2 separate regions of the Homo sapiens genome follow, and region 2 is linked to region 1. The links are contacts of gene promoters, found by promoter capture Hi-C in blood cells and fetal thymus (Javierre and others, 2016). All regions are on one chromosome and are shown on one strand. Each heading gives the region's core, a stretch centred on a gene start or on the middle of the fragment in contact. The rest is flanking DNA. Distances are from core to core; before and after follow the strand shown. Region 1 holds the start of ATOX1-AS1 (ATOX1 antisense RNA 1). Region 2 overlaps FAT2 (FAT atypical cadherin 2).

What was found. Contacts are between HindIII fragments. The CHiCAGO score rates a contact against its expected background, and 5 or more counts as called.
Region 2: a fragment that was not itself captured here is called in contact with the fragment with the promoter of ATOX1-AS1 in region 1 in 1 of 17 cell types (monocytes); the score reaches 6.1 in monocytes.

The regions. Positions count from the first base shown.
Region 1 is chr5:151,750,585-151,756,475 of GRCh38, reverse strand. It overlaps ATOX1-AS1 (ATOX1 antisense RNA 1), which reads right to left and starts at 3,396. Exons shown (of 4, transcript XR_007059008.1): 1 at 3,167-3,396; 2 at 2,354-2,803. It overlaps ATOX1 (antioxidant 1 copper chaperone), which reads left to right. Exons shown (of 4, transcript NM_004045.4): 2 at 4,697-4,772. The HindIII fragment of the contact is 3,507 bases long and covers 1,261-4,767 here.
Region 2 is chr5:151,549,678-151,555,568 of GRCh38, reverse strand. FAT2 (FAT atypical cadherin 2) reads left to right here. Exons shown (of 24, transcript NM_001447.3): 5 at 896-1,207; 6 at 2,182-2,392; 7 at 3,963-4,102; 8 at 4,698-4,979. It also overlaps a transcript of SLC36A1 not described here. Among named protein-coding and RNA genes, the nearest start is that of MIR6499, 30 kb to the right of the region's middle. The HindIII fragment of the contact is 1,720 bases long and covers 2,590-4,309 here.

The DNA of each region.
Region 1 (5,891 bases), core at 2,147-4,646:
AAAAAAAAGGAAGGAAGGAGAGAGAAAGAAAAGAAAGAAAGAAAGAAGAGAAGAGAAGAGAAAACTATAGGCAGGCAGCTTTCAATCCCATTTTAACAAGATCTCAGTGGTTAAGCATTGAGGTTTTAGAGGCTGACTATGTTCAATTCAGGCCCTACTCAGCCGAATCACCGTGAGTGTGTGAACTAACCCCTAAATCTCAGTTTCCTCATCTGTCAAGAAGGGATAATAATAGGCCAGGTGCGGCGGGTAATGCCTGTAATCCCAGCACTTTGGGAGGCTAAGGCAGGCAGATCACAAAGTCAGGACTTTGAGACCAGCCTGGCCAACATGGTGAAACCCCGTCTCTACTAAATATACAAAAAAATTAGCCGGGCATGGTGGCGGACGCCTGTAGTCCCAGCTACTCGGGAGTCTGAGGCAGGAGAATCGCTTGAACCCAGGAGGCGGAGGTTGCAGTGAGCTGAGATCGTGCCACTGCACTGCAGCCTGGGTGACACTGTGAGACTCAGTCTCAAAAAAAAAAAAAAAAAAAAAGAATCATCCCACTTACTGACTTTAAAAACCTACTTTAAACCTACTGGCTTTTAAAATCTACCCATTTTATAAGTCTTTATAAAAGACCCCAGAGGCCATGAGGAACCAGAACTACCCAGTTATGCATCTGGTGGTAGAGCCAATCTTGAGATTCTCCTATAAAGAAGTGATTACTCTGTCCATGAAATAGATTTTCCATCACCCTCAAATTTATTTTTGCCCCTCAGAGGTGGAGGAGGAGAGCACTGAACTGTAATGTTTATACCCAGAAGCTGGTTTCTGGCTTCTGACCTTTATACTGTGGGGGATGGGACCTACTCCCTGTAGTCAGCGACAGAAAGTTTCAGGTATCTGTTGACTTTAGGTCCTTGGGCAGCAAAAAACTGTGCTCCCTAAAAATGTGTTTCTAGTTTCAGAGCTTCTGCTGAGAGTCAGGGTTATGAGGGCTGGCGGTGTACTTTGCTTTTCCAGAACCAGCAAGATTTCCCTGGAGCGAAGAAAGCCTAGGTTCATATTCCATACTCAGTAGTTATTTGCCACATGACTGCAAGCTACCTAGTGAACTCTTGGGAACTTCACTTTCCTCCTGAGTGAAATAAGATAAATAGCTCTCTTTCCAGGCTCAGTGAGGACTAACTTAGATACTGTACAAAGATAATTTGACATGTAATAGACAATCAGTAGATTTAGCTCTTATGTTGATCTTGCAAACCCTTCAAAGCTTTGGCTCAGTATATAAGTACAAACCATAGATGAATTGATTTTCTGCTGGTTATCCTAGAGCAAGACTCAGCAAACTTTTTTTTTTACACGGCACCGATAGTAAACATTTTAGTCTTCACAAACCATAGGGTCTCTGGTACAACTACTCAACTCTGCCATTCTAGTGCAAAAGTAAACAAATGAGTTTGGCTGTAGTTTTTTGTTTTTGTGTTTCTTTTTTTTTTTTTTTTTTTTTGGACGGTGTCTCGCTCTCTTGCCAGGCTGGAGTGCAATGGCATGGTCTTGGCTCACTGCAACCTCCGCCTCCTGGGTCAAGCGATTCTCCTGCCTCAGCCTCTTGAGTAGCTGGGACTACAGGCGCATGCCACCACTACCAGCTAATTTTTGTATTTTTAGTAGAGATGGGGTTTCACCATGTTGGCCAGAATGGTCTCGATCTCTTGACCTCGTGATCCTCCCGCCTCAGCCTCCCAAAAATGCTGGGATTACAGGCATGAGCCACCACACCTGGCCCGATTTGGGCTATGTTTTAACAAAACTCTTTGTAAAACAGGTAGTTTGTAGTGTGCCAATCCATGTTCCAGAGCATCATCATTTTTTTTTCCAAAACAATTTTTTTCTTTTAAATTAAATGGAGCCATGATCTCACTGTATTGCCCAGGCTAGTCTCAAACTCCTGGGTTTAAGTGATTTTCCTGCCTCAGCCTCCTAAGTAGCTGGGATTACAGGCACCTGCCACCATGCCTGGCTAATTTTTTTTCTATTTTTAGTAGAGAAACAGGTTTTGCCATGTTGGCCAGACTGGTCTCAAACTTGTGACCTCAGGTGATCTACCTGCCTCAGCCTCCCAAAGTGTTGAGATTATAGGCATGAGCCACATTGCCCAGCCTAAAAAAACTTTTTAATAGAGGAGAGCATCATCTCAGACTGTAATGTGGGGAGGAATGACTTGGGTGTCTTGTTAAAATGAGGATTCTGATTCCGGACTTCTGGGAAGGGACCTGAGATTCTGCATTTCTGACAGGCTCTCAGGTGATGCTCATATTGTTGGGCTGAGGACCACATTTTAAAGACAAGATTTTGTAATACTTACTACAAATCCTTCTTTCCAGAATCTGTTATTGTTGCTGTCTGTGAATAGTCAGGAAACAAGATGAAAAAATCAGAGATGTTTAGAAGAAAGGAAAGACTGACCATTTTCTTTAAGACAGATTTTGCAGATTTGGCCTTAATAAAAGGAGTGGTTTACTAGTCACAAAGGTCAAACAGTCTGCACTGGAAAATCGAGCTGCTTAATTCTTGGTCTTCGTTTCCTCTGTAGAGCACAGTGACAATCCAGACTCAGCGGTGTTTAGAGACTTGGAAAGAGTTTGAGAAGCCACTTAGCCACTTTATTTTCAGGTTTGTAGTTTTGCCTCCCGTTCTCTCCCCAGTAGGTTAAAAATGGGGAGTGGCAGGGCCCGCTCCACATCCACAGAGTCAGTTGAGGCAGGTGTCTGGGAGCTGCACTTTCCACAAGGTCCCCAGATTCTTCCTATGCACACTAAAGTTGAAAAAAATTGAGTTAGCTAATACCCTTTTGGTATAGATTAGGGAACTGGAGCCCTTCTGGAGCAGAGATTTTGCCTGTGGTTTTCTAGCAAGATATATCACTACACCCAGGATTCCAACTGAGGTAATAGACTTCAAATATTTTGAAGTGCTCCATGAAAAATGTAGCCATTGATTTTTGAAGGGAAACAGGAGAGACAAATGGAAGAAATTAATAATCCAATAGCTAACCTTTTACCCAACGGAACCTAGTACTAGGCTCTAATTTCCTTAATGTGTTAGTTATCTATTGCTCCTTAGTAATTATCCCAAAACTTTGTAGTATAAAACAACAAATATATTTATAGTAACTCACACAGTTTCTGAGAGTCAGGAATTTGGGAACAGCTTGGCCTAGTGGCTCCAGCTCAGAGGCTCTCATAAAGCTGCAGTGAGATGTTGGCTGGAGCTGCATTCATCTGAAGGCTTGACTGGAGCTGGAGAATCCACTTCCAACATGTCTCACTCACATGCTTGTTAGCTCGAGGGTTCAATCTCTCACTTTGTGGACCTCTCCTTGTGGTTGCTGGAATTTCTTTGTAATTTAGTAGCTGACTTCCTCTAGTGCAAGTGACCCCAGAAATGGAGCAAGACAGAAGTCACAGTGTCCTTTATGACATTGTGATAGCTTCAGAAGCCACATAACCTCACTTCAAGCCATATTCTATAAGACACACAGACCAACCCGAGACATGTGGAATGGGATTACTCAAGGGCATAAATACCAGAGGCAGAGATCATTGAGGCCATCTTGGATGCTGGCTAACCGTACTTAAAATCCTGTGTTCATCCCATTCACAAATCTAGAGAGGGACTCTTACCCTCAATTTTCAGATGTGGAAACTAAGGCACAGAGAAGTAACATATTGATGATCATGCAACTAGTAGTGCCAGAGCTGGTATCTGAAGCCATATTTATCTGATTTCAGATGGTCTCATTTCCAGAGATTTTAAAATAAAGTATTGGTATAAGTAATCCTTGTGTGAAAGCAAAGCAAAAGATCCAGAAGTTCAAACCAGCCATGTCAATTATCCATTGACTCAAAAATAAGTTTTAAGCACCTACTCTGTCCAGGCACTGTTCCAAGTATTAGGAATCCAGTAGTGAACTGAACAAAACCTCTGTCTTCTGGGAGCTTACCTTCAGACCCTTGATCTGTTAGATATCCTAGAGACTGTAGAATGTAGAGCTTACATGAAGACTAGGAGCCGGGGATCCCTTCCTGCCTGGCCTCCAACCCACTGGGGAACCCAGGCAATCCTTTCTTTCCCTGGACCCAGATGCTGCCTCTGAGAATGCGGCCCTTGGATGAAAGCAGAATCACCTGGGGTAATGAGTAGACATAACAGATTCCCCAGCCCAGACCTGCTGACCAGAACCTGTAGTTTTTGCAAGCTGTAGGTGACTCTAGTGCAGAAAATAATTTTGTGGTTCATAAGTGGGCCCACCAGATCAGCATTGCTCAGAGTATGGGGGCCCATCCCTGTCAGAGTTACTGGTGGCCCTGAGACAAAGCTCATAGCTCAAGAATCAGTGTTTTGAAGGTAGGACTGGGAAAAAGCATTTTAAACTAGATCTCCAGGTGATTCTATTTACTATGTGCCAGACACTGCTAAAGGATTTATAGGGATGATTCCATTGAATACAACTTGTGAGGTAGAAACTCTTAGCTACTCTATAGTTGAAGAGACGGGCTCAGAAACAGGCTTCTGATGAGTCTGATGCCAACCAGGTCCTGCCCAGTCTCTCTGTCTTCTGTCTTGACCCTGAGTGGGCCTGTCTGCTGGCACTGTGTGGGGGTCACTCTACAGGGCTCGGGTCATGGTCCCCCTGTGTTTGTTTCAGAAGCACGAGTTCTCTGTGGACATGACCTGTGGAGGCTGTGCTGAAGCTGTCTCTCGGGTCCTCAATAAGCTTGGAGGTGAGTGAGTGGCCCTGAGTTGGGTGCACTTATGCCATGTTCAGATGCATGCAGATGTTGCAGGAGAGACTTAGGGTTAAGCTGATCATAACAGTAAAACTAAAATATATTGAGTACTTAGCACGTGCCAACTACTCTTGTTATTTTCTTAGTGGCTTATGTGAATCACATCATTTAATCCTCACCACGGCCATTTCAGATAGTTTTTTTTTTACTAGCTCCATGTTAAACAGGAGACAGCTGAAGTTCAGAAACATTAAATAACTTATCTGGGATCACATGGTCAGTAAATGGCAGAGCTGGGATTTAGCCAAATTAACTAGTACTGCCAGGAGTAGCTCTGGAGCCATGGCAGTACTAGTTCATATGTTGGTCATCTCCAGTGTGTACTGCATGACACATCTGAGTGTCATTTTCTATTGAATTTTTTTTTTTTTTTTTTTTTTTGAGACAGAGTTTCGCTCTTCTTGCTCAGCCTGGAGTGCAATGGTGCAATCTCGGCTTGTTGCAACCTCCGCCTCCCAGGTTCAAGCAATTCTCTTGCCTCAGCCTTCCAAGTAGCTGGGATTACAGGCATGCACCACCACGCCTGGCTCATTTTGTATTTTCAGTACAGACGGGGTTTCTCCATGTTGGTCAGGCTGGTCTCGAACCCCTGACCTCAGGTGATCTGCCCGCCTCGGCCTCCCAAAGTGCTGGGATTACAGGCGCGAGCCACCCTACGCAGCCTCTATTAAGGTTTTTTAAATGGGGCTGGGCACGGTGGCTCACACCTGTGATCCCAGCATTTCGGAAGGCTGAGGCGGGCAGATTGCCTGAGCTCAGGAGTTCCCGAGACCAGCCTGGGCAACATGGTAAAATGCCATCTCTACAAAAAATACCAAAAAAATTAGCCAGGCATGGTGTTACATGCCTGTACTCACAGCTAATTTAGGGGGCTGAGGTGGGAAGATCGCTTGAGCCTGGGAGGTTAAGGCCACAGTGAGCCTAGATCGTGCCACTGCACTGCAGTGGGGGCAACAGAGCAAGACCCTGTCTCCAAAAAAAAAAAAAAAAAAAGAAAGAAAAAAAGGAAAGATTTAAAAAAAGGTAAAAATTTTTAAAATTTTGTCTTTTTCT
Region 2 (5,891 bases), core at 2,200-4,699, 200 kb after region 1:
ATGAAACCCCATCTGTACTAAAAATACAAAAATTAGCCAGGTGTGGTGGCGGGTGCTTGTAATCCCAGCTACCGGGGAGGCTGAGGCGGAGAAGCACTTGAACCTGGGAGACGGAGGTTGCAGTGAGCTGAGATCGTGCCACTGAACTCCAGCCTGGGCGATAGAGCGAGACTCAGTCTCAAAAAAAAAAAAAAAAAAAAAGAAATATATTATTAGTAAGAAGTAGCTAAATGGCCTTCTAGAATTCCTAGGGACTGAAAGCATTCTCCACAGTTCAGTAACAGATATTTACCTTTAAACACCAAAGTGTTTTTTAAAATTCAGAACCATTTCAGGTGGAAATCTCCTGTCTGATGTGATGCCCTTGGGGCTATTGATGCATGTGATTATTTGCCTCTGCATTAAATAGCTACTGGTTCTGAAATGGTTTTGGGGCCTTTTCTCACTCTGGATTTCATTGCATGCATCAGGCCACGTGCACATGTCTGACTCAAAAAGTACCACTCATTCCCTCATCAACATTTTCTCATTTATTTTCTCTAATCGAGCAACTTAAGGAAACCAGAGAACTAAAATTATGAAAAACACAAGCAAGTAAAAAGTAGGTAGTCTCTGAGAAATGGCCCAGGGGTTGTCCCACATAAACAGCACCAGCTTTTGTCTAGAGACTCTGACTCTGTCTTCTTCCAGTTCTTTCTGCTTCCTTTCTCTGTTCTCACTGGCTTTCCCAGGGGCAAAGTTGCCAGAGAGCTGAGTTCCAAGTAGGTGAAGTTATGATAATAAAAAGTACAAGCTCATACCAAAGAACAAAGTGACTACTATTTCCAGGTTGTTAAAGCATAGTCACTAATTTGCAATTGTCAGCTCAGGTGCTCATGCTCAATTCTGCTCCCAGGTGACTGTGCTGGACAATGGGGAACCCTCACTGAAGTCCACCTCCAGGGTGGTGGTAGGCATCTTGGACGTCAATGACAATCCACCTATATTCTCCCACAAGCTCTTCAATGTCCGCCTTCCAGAGAGGCTGAGCCCTGTGTCCCCTGGGCCTGTGTACAGGCTGGTGGCTTCAGACCTGGATGAGGGTCTTAATGGCAGAGTCACCTACAGTATCGAGGACAGCGATGAGGAGGCCTTCAGTATCGACCTGGTCACAGGTGTGGTTTCATCCAGCAGCACTTTTACAGCTGGAGAGTACAACATCCTAACGGTGAGCAGACAGAAGGAAGCCACGGAGGGAGGAGTGGCATGCTGGTTAGTGGCCTTCTTTGAGAATTCAGGAGGAGGGAGACAGCCCACCAGCATAAGGGAAATGGTACTCTCCTTCCTGGCCTTCTCCCAGAGAAACTGGGAGTCTCAGCTTCAGCCAAAGGATCAAATTCTGGGTCCTTCTCTTTGAAGGCAATAAGGTCTTTGCCTGGGAAATCCCCTCTATTCTTAGAGAGAAGGATTTAGTGAGAGTAACAGGGGCTTTGGAACCAATAAGCCTGGGTTCCAACCCTAGTACTGCCATTTTACACCTGTGTGATGTTGGACAAGTCGTTTAACCTTTATCATTTGTAAAATGGAGATAAGAACGTCTTTCTTGTGAGAAGCCAATATATCAGGTAGCTAGCGCATGGGTGCTTACATCAGTCAGCCTGAATTCAACCCCAGTCTCATTGCTAGCCAAGCATTTCATCTGGCAGGTGAATCGACCACACTGAGCCTTAGTTTATTCTTGTAAAAGACAGATGATAACAGGACCTCTTCCAAGGTTATTGTGAGGATTAAATCAGATATTGCGCACAAAGCTCTTAGAACAAGGCCTGATAATAGTGAGTGCTCAATAAATTCTAGCTTGTTAGGTTTATGGTAGTTGGGAAAAGCAAAGGGCATATGTATGTAAAGTTCAATTTAGGAAGTAGCACACAGTAAGTCTTCAGTTAACAGTGGCATTTATTATTTTTATACTAACCATGAGGTTCTTGAGCACAGGTTATACGTTTTGTTCACCACCGTGCCTGCAGCAACTGGCAGGGTGCCTGTTTACAGCAAGCCTTCAAGTATGCATCAGATGAATGAATGACTGGATGAGAGGCCTGCTTGGTCAGAATCACAGGACGCTCTGGTTCCTGTCCTGGCTGCTTGGGTCTTCCTGTCTCTTGGCCCCAAACCTCAGTTTTGGTGTTGGCCTCCTTTCAGATCAAGGCAACAGACAGTGGGCAGCCACCACTCTCAGCCAGTGTCCGGCTACACATTGAGTGGATCCCTTGGCCCCGGCCGTCCTCCATCCCTCTGGCCTTTGATGAGACCTACTACAGCTTTACGGTCATGGAGACGGACCCTGTGAACCACATGGTGGGGGTCATCAGCGTAGAGGGCAGACCCGGACTCTTCTGGTTCAACATCTCAGGTGAGGCAAGGCCTAGGGCCCAACAAGGGCCAACCCCTCCCATCCTTATACACCAGCTCTAGTTTTCCTGCTACAGTCCTTCTGACTCTTCTCAAGGTCGGGCTCCTCGGCAGCCCCTCTTTCAGCCCGGAGTGGGGACTGCCTCTTCCCTGGTTCTCTGGGAGCACAGGCAGTAAGAATGCCACGTCTGCCAAGCTTTCCTTTCACTCCAGCCACGATCTCTAACCCCAGCCAGAGTTGGCAGTGCCTCAGTTACCCCAAGGGCCTAGGAGACCTAAAATGGTTCAGGAAGACCCAGAGCAGAAATGCTTTGTGTTTCCTTTCCTACCTCAATGTGAAAATCATAGTTGACCGTGAGCCTGCCATAAGCTATACCCTGGGGCCATGCTCAATGTTTTGGCTCCAGGTTTCACCCTTGAGATCAGGGGAAAGTGCCCATTCTCATTCTACGAGGCACTTGGATCCGGGCTCTGATGGCCTTCTCTGAAATTCCTCTCTGTCTCTAAATCAAGGTTTTGTTTCAACATCTGGGGGTCACAGAACCCTTCAGGAATCTGACGAACGCTTAGGTCCTCTTCCCAGAAAGTTGTGTGCACAAACACACACAAATGTAAATCTGCATACAATTTAGAGGATGTATAGGCCCTTTGAAACCCATCCAGGGATTCCAGGTTAAAAATCTCTAGGAGTTTCAGCACCCACATGAACATGGAGTCCTGGTACAGTTTTCTGTCCTGGCTAAGAGTAGGATAGGATATATGCCCTTGACCCAAGCTCTTTGAACCTCCTGAACTTACTTCCAGTTCTGGCTTACGGCTGTTTTGTTTGACTTTTTTTCTTTAATACCAAATTAATGCATGTACCCTCTAAAACATTTCAAAAACACATATGGGCTGGGCACAGTGGCTCGCACCTGTAATCCCAGCTGCTTGAGAGGCTGAAGTAGGAGGATCACTTGAGGCCGAGTCCAAGGTTACAGTGAACTATGATTGCACCATACACTCCAGCCTGGGTGACAGAGTGAGAGCCTGTCTATAAATAAGTAAATAAGCACACACAAATGAATGCAGAGAAGAAAATAAAAATCACCTAAAGTTCCACCAATCAGAAGATAATCCACTGTTATAATGTTGATGTGTTTCCTTTTTGTCATTTTTCCTTTACACACACACACACACACACACACACACACACACACACCCTTAGGGTTATATTAAAGTATTGTTTTATAATATTTTTAAATGTAATATATCATGAACATATTTCCATGTCACTAAACATATTTCTATATACTAGACATTTAAAAATATGTTGTTACATTTGGATTCTTATAGTTTATTAATCAATTTGATTTATTAATAAAATTCAAATAAAAATAACTTGACAACAACTTGACAGAATAAATTACAGTTTTGGGACTCCCTGGGAGAATAAACTACAACCTGTCACTCAGATCTTGTACTGTGGAATTTACCACCGTGTCCTCTGAGCCTGACAACCAAAGCCTATCTTATGCTATGCTGCCTAAATCACTGAGGTTGTGTGTGCTTTCTCCCCACTCCCACTCTAGGTGGGGATAAGGACATGGACTTTGACATTGAGAAGACCACAGGCAGCATCGTCATTGCCAGGCCTCTTGATACCAGGAGAAGGTCGAACTATAACTTGACTGTTGAGGTGACAGATGGGTCCCGCACCATTGCCACACAGGTTAGAGGCCTCGGCTGGGGACCCCTGTATTGAGAGGAGATGGAAGGCCTTCTTGGTTGGGATGAGGCTACAGAGGTTTTCTGTGGATGTGGTGTTCCTCAAGGAACACTGAATTTAGAATCAAAGTTCTTGTCTAATACACTCTCTACTTCTGTGATCCTGGGAGAATTCTTTCTCCCACTCTGGATCTGTCTATAATTGGAAGCTTGTTTAAATGAGCAGTTTTAATTAAAGATAGAGTACAATGGGGCTACTATGGGTATAGGGGGATGATGGTTGGGTAAGTGGGGCTCTGAATTTCTATTCTAGCTTCAGCCAGTGTTTTATCTGTTTCTTACATTTGGATTTCACACAACATTTCACTTGATGGAAAGGCCCTTCCAGAAAATTTTTGTTTTTGAAAAACACTAGACTGTGCAGCATCTGAAGGTCTTTTGATTTTGAAATACTGTCATTCATTCAACAAATATTTATCAAGTGATTGCTGAGTGCCAGGCACTGTGCTAGGCCTGGGTGATACAGGGAGGTCCAGACAGACCCAGTCCCTGTTCCCCTGGGGCTTGCAGTGCACCTTCTCCCTCATCTCCCTCCCTAGGTCCACATCTTCATGATTGCCAACATTAACCACCATCGGCCCCAGTTTCTGGAAACTCGTTATGAAGTCAGAGTTCCCCAGGACACCGTGCCAGGGGTAGAGCTCCTGCGAGTCCAGGCCATAGATCAAGACAAGGGCAAAAGCCTCATCTATACCATACATGGCAGCCAAGACCCAGGAAGTGCCAGCCTCTTCCAGCTGGACCCAAGCAGTGGTGTCCTGGTAACGGTGGGAAAATTGGACCTCGGCTCGGGGCCCTCCCAGCACACACTGACAGTCATGGTGAGTAAATGGAAAAATCTGGTGAGAATACGTTTGCATGTAGATGTGTAGGGGTGGACATGCTTGGAGACATGCTGAAGGTCCCCCTTCCCCTCATAAGGACCATGCACGAGACAGAGTTGTGACATTTCACAGCTGGCTAAGGGCACCTTCCATAAGGGATGCCTGGAAGTGAAGGTAGAGATGGGACGGCTGCCAAGGAAACTCCTGTCAACCTCAGCTTTCTCTGGACTCACCCCAGATATTTCCCAAGAGCTCTCTCCCTGCTCAGTGACTTCATGACACAATGTGGATTCATGTAATGTCAGAGCTGGAAGGGACACAGAGCCTCTCCCACTGAGAGCAAGGACTAGGGTCAGGCCAGCAAGGCATGCAGGACACAAAATGTAAGGAGGGCTCACTCTCTGGGCCATGTGCCTGCATTTTTATGACCCCAAGAGTCAGAGCCTCTTTAAATTTTGCACCCTACTTGCCTCACTTGCTTCCCCCTAGTTCTATCCCTGACCCTGCCCATTTGTCTCATCTTACACCTGAGACCCACAGAGAAAGACAGACTTCCTCACTGTCATACAGTTATTTATGATGGAACCAGAATCGGAGCCTGGCCTCCTGTCTTAAAGATCAGGGTTCTTATGTGCTAATTTATCATCCTCTGGGCATATAATACGTATTCAAGGCTCTGAGAAGTCCTGCAACAAAGAAAACTGTTTGACTGCATTTAATTCAGTGCTCCCCAAATTTATGTGACCATATAATTTTTTTTTCCTGCATGACATGTTAACATCTTGAAGAATGAGTATTCTCTGAGATGTAATTTGGAAAACACTGCTTCTCTGCCTATTTCTGTCTTTCTCCTAAAATAGAATTATCCATTAAAACAGCTGAGCCTAGGAATCATTGACTGATCCATTT